3 separate regions of the Homo sapiens genome follow, and regions 1 and 3 are each linked to region 2. Evidence: promoter capture Hi-C in 16 types of primary human blood cells and fetal thymus (Javierre and others, 2016). All regions are on one chromosome and are shown on one strand. Each heading gives the region's core, a stretch centred on a gene start or on the middle of the fragment in contact. The rest is flanking DNA. Distances are from core to core; before and after follow the strand shown.

Region 1 (2,700 bases), core at 106-2,605, 300 kb after region 2:
GAATGAGTTTATGAACAGGAAATATGACCAGTTAAAATCTTAGATAAAGTTGCTATTGATGACTGGTTTTCCATCTTGGTTCTAATCAGAAACCTTCCTAGATCTTGCTGAGGAACAAGAGAATAAACTCTGCATCCCTGAAACTTCATCACCTCTCTTAGGCCAAGGGCTGACATTTAATACAAGTGTACTTCCTTTACATAATGACTATATTCTTGAGGTATATACAAATGACATTTTTTAAAAGCCAAGCAATATTTTAAGAAAGGTGCACACTATAAAGACATCTTTGGTAAATCTATTTTCTCATAATTGCACTTTAAAGCTGAACAATTAAATATCCTCAACATTTTTATTACTTATATTCTGTATAACTTGAAGGAGTTGAAGTGTTAATTAGGTTGGTGCAAGAGTAATTGTGGTTTTTGCCATTTTTTAAATGGTAAAAATGGTAAAAATCACAATTACTTTTGCAGCAACCCAATACTTTGTTTGCCTTTGAGTGACTGACACTGTGAGGGAAACAAAAATGAATAATAGTGCTTATCATATAAACATAGCTGAAAGATGAGACGTTCTCAAATAATAACAATGATTACATAGAGGAAGTGACAGTTAAAGTGCATGCAAGTTATTTAACAAAGTCAAATATTCAGACCAGCATCCTATATATAGTGCTACACTACGCTGTATATGAGAAAATTCATGCTGCTTGTCTCCCCTTTTTATTCATTTGTTCCACAGGTAGGTATTTTTTTAATAGCTTATTATGGACCAGACAAAAAAAAGCGCATGAGATGGTGACTGATAAGGAGAGAATGTAAATGTGGAGGGGGGACAAATGTAAGCAACAATATTCAGTTTAGCACAGTGTGATAAAAGCGATGTGTGTACTATTCCTACTTTTTTTTTTTTGAGACAGAGTCTGGCTCTGTCACCCAGGCTGGAGTGCAATGGTGTGATCTCGGTTCACTGAAACCTCTGCCTCCTGGGTTCAAACGTTTCTCCTGCCTCAGCCTCCCGAGTAGCTGGGAATACAGGTGCGTGCCACCACACCCAGCTAATTTTTGTATTTTTAGTAGAGATGGGGTTTCACCATTTCGGCCAGGATGGTTTTGATCTCTTGACCTTGTGATCTGCCCACCTCAGCCTCCCAAAGTTCTGGGATTACAGGCGTGAGCCACCGTGCCCCGCCCTATTCCTACAATTTTAATTGCTCTTTATCTGACTTAATTGCACTTAAAATGAGGTACTTTTTGCTAGCAACTAAACATAGAGAAGGTCCTAGGATACCAAATAGACGGGAGTAGAAAATACTATGTGAGAGTTTGTGTTAAATAGTTCAGATAACAGTAATGATCTCTAGAAAACTTGCAGGACATGAGAATAGTCATTTGAGCTTGATTTTAAACATCGAGAGTGAGATGAAATAGAATTGTTGCCTTCTCTAAATACATTTTCATTTATACCAAATTAGACTTGACAAAAACTTTTTGGGAAAAATTGGGATAAAAAAATGAGTACTCCTCTCTATGTCCTGAGGATACCCAGGTTTATTTCTCCAGACTTGGACTTCCTAAATGCCAGATGAATATATTCAGCTGCCCAAGGACCTCTGGACTCAAATTTCTTCCTGCACAGCATGCTTATCACCCGAGGTTGAACCTATCCTTTCCCTTCCTCCCAGTCCCCAAATCTGCTATCCTCTCCAGCATTCCCTCAGTCAATAACATCAACATAACCACCCTTCCCCAACATACTGCAATTACCCAAGCTGGAGACACAATCATTTTGATTCTTCCCTTTTACGTTGATTTTTCTTCCTAATGTGGTTATAGTGTTAAGACATTAGCTTATCAGCCACTGAAGAAAGGTCTTGCTTTCTGGTCATCGGAGCAAAATCTAAACTTCAGTTGCATCAAGAACTACAGGAACAGGAGACAGATGACTCACTTCTACAATGGCCATCATTAGCTCCTGTGGATTTCATTACAACTTGACTGAATTACCTGAGTACTTTGAACTAATTAGAAAATTAACTCATTTGAAAGGATAGTAAGGTATATGGAAGGATATTTGTTGGAGTTTAAACATTCAAGATGCTGTCTGAAAACTTTGAGAAGTACTTAGACCATACATGTGTTCAATTTCTCCATTTAGTACTTGTTCATGTGATTTCATTTGTTTACCTTTTGACAATTCAAAGTGATTATTTTCAATATCAGGCAATGCATGTACTTGAACTTCTCTGTAGTTAAGCAAAGCAGTCATTGGTGTGTCAAATATGGTGGAATCAGGGAAACACATTATTTCACTCCTAAATAGGATTTACCGGTTTTTTGTTTTTCTTCTGTTCGTTTTTTACTATCTCTAACAAATTAGAACTTGATATTTAAGATAACAGAGGTAACTTTACAAACCGCTGGAAAGACATTTTGATTTGACAATTTCTTGACATTTTTTTGCATACATTTTATGTGTGTATATGTGTGTATAGATATGGTGACTGTACCAATCAAGAAGAGGTGTTATTTAAAGTAACTGATTTTTTAACTTCAATTTTATCATGGAAACATCTGAAAGATAGTTAAAAACTGTAGTTATATCTGTTTTAGTCTGAGAGTATAATTAGCACATGTAAAAATTTCCAAGGAGATCTTACTAGTTTTGTACTTTGATCTTTGTTCTGGCTTATAAGTT
Region 2 (2,700 bases), core at 15-2,514:
TATTTGCCTGCTGATGTCAACTATTAGAGTGCTATTTAAAAGTTAAAACCCAAGAGGCATATGTAAAAGGAAATAAGTCAAATCAATCATTTATCTCAATATCAGAGTAATTCAGAGGAACTCTTAATTACATACCTCCAAGAGACTTGTGAGGTCAACTCCATTCTATCTGCTGCCCTTGAAGCTCAGCTGGAGTCCCTCAACACCCCGATTGGAGGATGAACTCTAGCATAGGGAATTCTGAGATGGAGGGAGGGGGCGCTGGTTCAGGATGCTTGGAGGTTCTAGAAAGAACTGAGGTCACCTGGAAGATACAACGCTACTCTAAAAATGATTCAGGATGGCTTTTCTATGCATTCTCTACTCCCATAGGAATCAGGGGCCACCTCCCAGGATGGAATCTGCCTGATGCTGTAACAGTGTTCAGCTCCCCAATTTCCCCATGATAACAGGCAACCTCCTTCTGTTTTGTCTACAGTTAATTAATCAGTCATTGCTGACAGTAAGGCTCCATCCTCAACACAGGATATTTTCTGAAGCATTAATTTTTGTTTCAATAGTTGATCCTTGTTTGGAATATAATGTGTTACAATGTAGTGGTACTTAGTATTAAAATCAAAATACCTTTTTATTCATCTTTCAATTTTAATACTTTTAGCATTTCAACCATTATTTGAAGGGTTACTTACTGCAGTATGTCACATTTATATACACACATGCACATGCTGCAGTGCTTTCAGTTTGAGCCAGTGATATTTTAGGCCCCAAATGCTCTGAAAAAATAGAGAAAGCTCTCACCAAGCTAAGGAAGTGAGCTTGCAGACCATGCCTTTAAAAATTTTCAGCTTGATAACTTAGTCCTCAAGATGACTAGGTTTCTCTTCCCCCACCCCTCAGTTAGCATGTGCGAACAAGGATTCTTTTGAATTCCCAGGAGGGGAATGAGTTTAATTTGACTGGTAAAAGTCTTCCTAATAGGATACCTAATACTGTGGCTCTTAGAACTAGCTACAAAGATATTTCATATGTTTATGTCTCATAATGGGTAATTTTGGTTTGGATTTATGTCATTTTGTCTCAGTATCACAATTTTTGAAAAATTAGTTCAAAGAGAAAAAAAAAAGAAAAGAAAAACCATGGTAAACATTGCTCAGTCTCATACTCCTACCCTCTCTATGCTAAAACAGGAAATGCATTTCTGACACTTTTAAAATGAGCAATCACACGTATAATCAACTTGGTTAAAACTTCCTTCCTGGTAACTGCAACACTTCCTCTGCATCTGGATATGAAGGGAGCCCCAGAAAAGCGGAAGAATTTAGACGCACACTGGGTAGGTTTGAATTTGTTTTGTTTTCAAAAATTAAACAAATGATCCTTCAGCATCATCGCCTCCGCTGCTTTATCAGGTATTGCTTCCTTCTATTTTTTGCTCTTTGTGGGGTCTGACTCGGAATAGTGGCACTTCCTTCTCGGCTAGATTATCTGAAACTGTTGTCGGTTCTTGAGATGATACTACCACCGAATGTCTGTGTTTCATTGTCTAGTCCAACCTGTATTGTGGATATCTACAACGTTCCGGCAATAGTTTTGCAGGTGCATCACATTTTTGTTTTTGTTTTGGGAGGAAAAGGGAGGGCACGGCAGCCAGGCTTCATATTCCTACAAGTGCATGCTTCAAGATTACTGTACTTACAGTGTTTCCAACATCTTCTCATAAAAGGGGAAAGCTTCATAGCCTCAACCATGAAGGAAACCAGTGAGTATTAGTCAGCCTGTTTTCCTCTGCATCTTATAAGATCGTTTGGTATCACTGAGGCAGAAGTTATTGCTGTGTATTTATATGCTGCCTAAATTTGGACATGTTTTATTTCAAGTTAGTGTCAATATCAATGTATCTTACAGTTCTCTTCTTTGTTAGTTATTCTATAATGTAGCAAAAGACCAAAATGAATGTTTTAAGCCACAAGAGACAGTTCTTTGGGACAGTTGGTTTCACTTACTAAGTATAACTTCATATTTTAAGAGAGGGAATATTGGTTTTAAAAGTTAAGCCAAGATTTGAACATAAGTTTGGATCAAATGAAATTTGTCTTTCTTATCTTCTTATCAAGCTCTCCTTTTTGGTATACATCAAATGCTCCACTATTTCTTAAGGAAATAATGTAGTTTTAAGTCTAACATTAGTTATTTAAGAGAGTAAACGATATTTTCTGAAACATTAATTTTTTGTTTCAATAATTGATTCGTTTAGAATATAATGTATTACAATGTAGTGATACTAAACATTGAAAGCAAAATACCTAATCTTTCAGTGTTAATACCTTTCAAATTTCAATTATTATTTGAAGGATTTCCTATTGCAGTATGTCCTATTTATACATAAGTGCTTTGTGAAGGGTAGGTACTTACTGAATTTTGTGGAAAGAGTGAGTAGGTTAATGAGAATAAATTTGTGAATTTGTGTTACAAAAATGAAAATATTAGAGCAAAAAAGAAGTTAAATGATTGGGGGTCTTAACAGAAGGTCACTGGAGTCCAGAAATCCTGCCTTCCATCCTGTAGCTCCTCCATTATTAAGTAGAGACAGATCAAATGAATTTTAATTAATTAATTAAACAATGTTAAAATTACCTAAATGTTCCTATTGGGAGAGTACAGCCTTGGGTGACTCTTCTAAGATACTGCCCTAATATAGCA
Region 3 (2,700 bases), core at 4-2,503, 320 kb after region 2:
ATTGGAAAGATGTCCTTTCTCTCTTTTTTGTTTTTGTTTTTTTGAGACGGAGTCTTGCTCTGTCGCCCAGGCTCGAGTGCAGTGGTGCAATCTCGGCTCACTGCAAGCTCCGCCTTCCGGGTTCACGCCATTCTCCTGCCTCAGCCTCCCGAGTAGCTGGGACTGCAGGCACCCACCACCATGCCTGGCTGGTTTTTTGTATTTTAAGTAGAGATGGGGTTTCACTGTGTTAGCCAGGATGGTCTCCATCTCCTGACCTCGTGATCCGCTTGCCTTGGCCTCCCAAAGTGCTGGGTGGGATTACAGGCATGAGCCACTGCACCCGGCCCTTCCTCTCCTTTTTAAAGAGTATTAGTACAGACATGCATAAACTTTTTCTGTTAAGGACCAGATCTCTATTTGGCATCTCAGACAATTATCCTGATTTGGGACCTTACCTTCAGATGGTTTTCCCTCCTCCACCTGGCTGTCTTCCTCTCTGCTTCCTTTCCAGACTGCTGAGTCCATACACATCATTCATCATCCTCTATAGGCTTGTTTCTTTCTGTTACCCCACCCATGAATATCTGGTCTGTTTGTGAGGGAAGGATCTGGGTATGCTCCTGGGAGCTCCATATACTCTAAAGGGAGCATTGTCTGGTAAAAGAGACTTTTGAGGGGAAGAAAAGAGGGCAAGGGATAAAGTTTTTTTTTTAAGGTGATCTTTGAGGAGAAAAAATAACTAGACCTTATATGTAGTTGCTTTTCAGCAAGTTTGTATTAGAAAACAAGAAATAGTGTCCAGTTACAAGGAGGGTGGATAGGCTGCTCTCTGCTATAAAAAGTGTAAGCATTTTTGCTTAAGGTAGTTCTTGTATCTGCCCAGTGATATGTGGTTGGTAGATAAAGAGTTCAGAGTTGGTTACACTAAGCTTAAATGCTGTCTTCATACTGAGACTTACTGAGTACATCAAAGTAGAAGAAAGAAATGGATAGGACGCCCTGCATTAGAGGGGGTATTATCATTCACAAACGAAATATACACATGTATATGTATTGATAGAAAAATGAATGGGATAAATAAATGAAACCATAGTCGTAGTTTAAAATATATTGTCAAATCTGAAAAAAACGATGTCTAAAATGTGTGAGGAGGGTTTGGATAAGGAGTTAAGGAATATAATTATAAAATGAAATCTTGCTGTCTTTACTAGTGTTTACCATAAATGTGTTCAATGTAATAACATTGGCGTTTTAAATATGAAGTTCTTTCATTAATAGGAAAGATCTACTTTAAGGACCTATGCTTATGGTTGAAACTGTTGCTTTATTTTAGATCATCTCCTGTACACATCATAGCCACTAGCAAAAGTTTACATTCCTATGCACGCCCTCCACCAGTGTCCTCTTCTTCGAAGAGTGAACCAGCCTTCCCTCATCACCATTGGAAGGAGGAAACACCAGTAAGACACGAAAGGGTAAGTTTATTTATGAGGTTAAACTTTTACAAAGTTTGTACAACAGTTGAAGTACATTAACATTCCTCATAGGAAGTAGTCTCACTGTTCTGTTAGTGATCTGGATTTGATTTTATATACAGCTCTGCTATGTGTTAGGAAAGCTTATTATTAATGGGAATGTGCGTATAACTAAAGCTTCCAAAAACTTTGTTTTGTGTGTGTCTTTTTTTTCTTTTTTTTTCTTTTTTTTTTTTTTTTAGCAAATTCTCCCACAGCCTGACAACCCTCAGTTTTTGAAGGCATTATATTTTCCCTAAGGTTAGAATTACTAAGTTATCCACCTATAAGCATGGGCCTAAAGACGTGGGATGAAAACAGATATTAAAAGGTATATTTTAAAAACAAATAAAAAAGTTGATAATATTTTTCTCCATAGGCAAATAGTGAGTCAGAATCTGGCATTTTCTGCATGTCCTCCCTGTCAGATGATGATGATTTGGGATGGTGCAATTCCTGGCCTTCAACTGTCTGGCACTGTTTTTTGAAAGGTAAAACAAACAAACAAACAAAAACCTTGAATTTTCCACAGCTTACTTGTCTAGTACAGTCACGTGTCTAATACGTGTTTTCTACCTAAACCTTAGGCACACGACTGTGCTTTCATAAGGGAAGCAATAAGGAATGGCAAGATGTTGAAGATTTTGCTAGAGCTGAAGGCTGTGATAATGAGGAAGATCTTCAAATGGGCATTCACAAGGTTGATTTAAAATTCTTAAAAAATTTTTCAAAATCTTTCCAAATGAAACAAGATTTATTGTTAATCTACAGAAATATCCTCCATTCACTTTGATATTTAAATGACATCGTACATTTTAGGTAGAGCATTTTTATGACCACTCATTGCTTAGTCTGATGGGGAGGAGCAATGATTTTAGGTTTGCCTTTCTAACATGCTTTCTTGGATGGGAAATAGTATATTTCTTGGTGCTTCTTCGTGTTTTATACACTTTACAATGGGGAAAACTGGTATTAAAAATATGTAATGAGGTCGGGCGCAGTGGCTCATGCCTGTAATCCCAGCACTTTGGGAGGCTGAGGCGGGTGGATCACGAGGTCAGGAGATCGCGACCATCCTGGCTAACGCGGTGAAACCCCACCTCTACTAAAAATACAAAAAAATTAGCTGGGCGTGGTGGTGGGCGCCTGTAGTCCCAACTACTTGGGAGGCTGAGGCAGGAGAATGGTGTGAACCCAGGAGGCA

What was found. The method cuts DNA at HindIII sites, captures the fragments that hold promoters and counts their contacts. A CHiCAGO score of 5 or more calls a contact.
Region 1: a fragment that was not itself captured here is called in contact with the fragment with the promoter of PIK3CG in region 2 in 10 of 17 cell types (naive CD4 T cells, naive B cells, total B cells and 7 more); the score reaches 10.0 in naive CD4 T cells.
Region 3: a fragment that was not itself captured here is called in contact with the fragment with the promoter of PIK3CG in region 2 in 4 of 17 cell types (naive CD8 T cells, neutrophils, naive CD4 T cells and 1 more); the score reaches 6.0 in naive CD8 T cells.

The regions. Positions count from the first base shown.
Region 1 is chr7:107,163,724-107,166,423 of GRCh38, forward strand. No RefSeq gene overlaps it. Among named protein-coding and RNA genes, the nearest start is that of HBP1, 3.9 kb to the right of the region's middle. The HindIII fragment of the contact is 5,231 bases long and covers 1-2,700 here.
Region 2 is chr7:106,864,018-106,866,717 of GRCh38, forward strand. PIK3CG (phosphatidylinositol-4,5-bisphosphate 3-kinase catalytic subunit gamma) reads left to right here and starts at 1,265. Exons shown (of 11, transcript NM_001282426.2): 1 at 1,265-1,409. RefSeq lists an enhancer at 1,337-1,436. The HindIII fragment of the contact is 4,956 bases long and covers 1-1,728 here.
Region 3 is chr7:107,184,486-107,187,185 of GRCh38, forward strand. It overlaps HBP1 (HMG-box transcription factor 1), which reads left to right. Exons shown (of 11, transcript NM_012257.4): 4 at 1,316-1,457; 5 at 1,876-1,987; 6 at 2,084-2,196. Among named protein-coding and RNA genes, the nearest start is that of HBP1, 17 kb to the left of the region's middle. The HindIII fragment of the contact is 689 bases long and covers 910-1,598 here.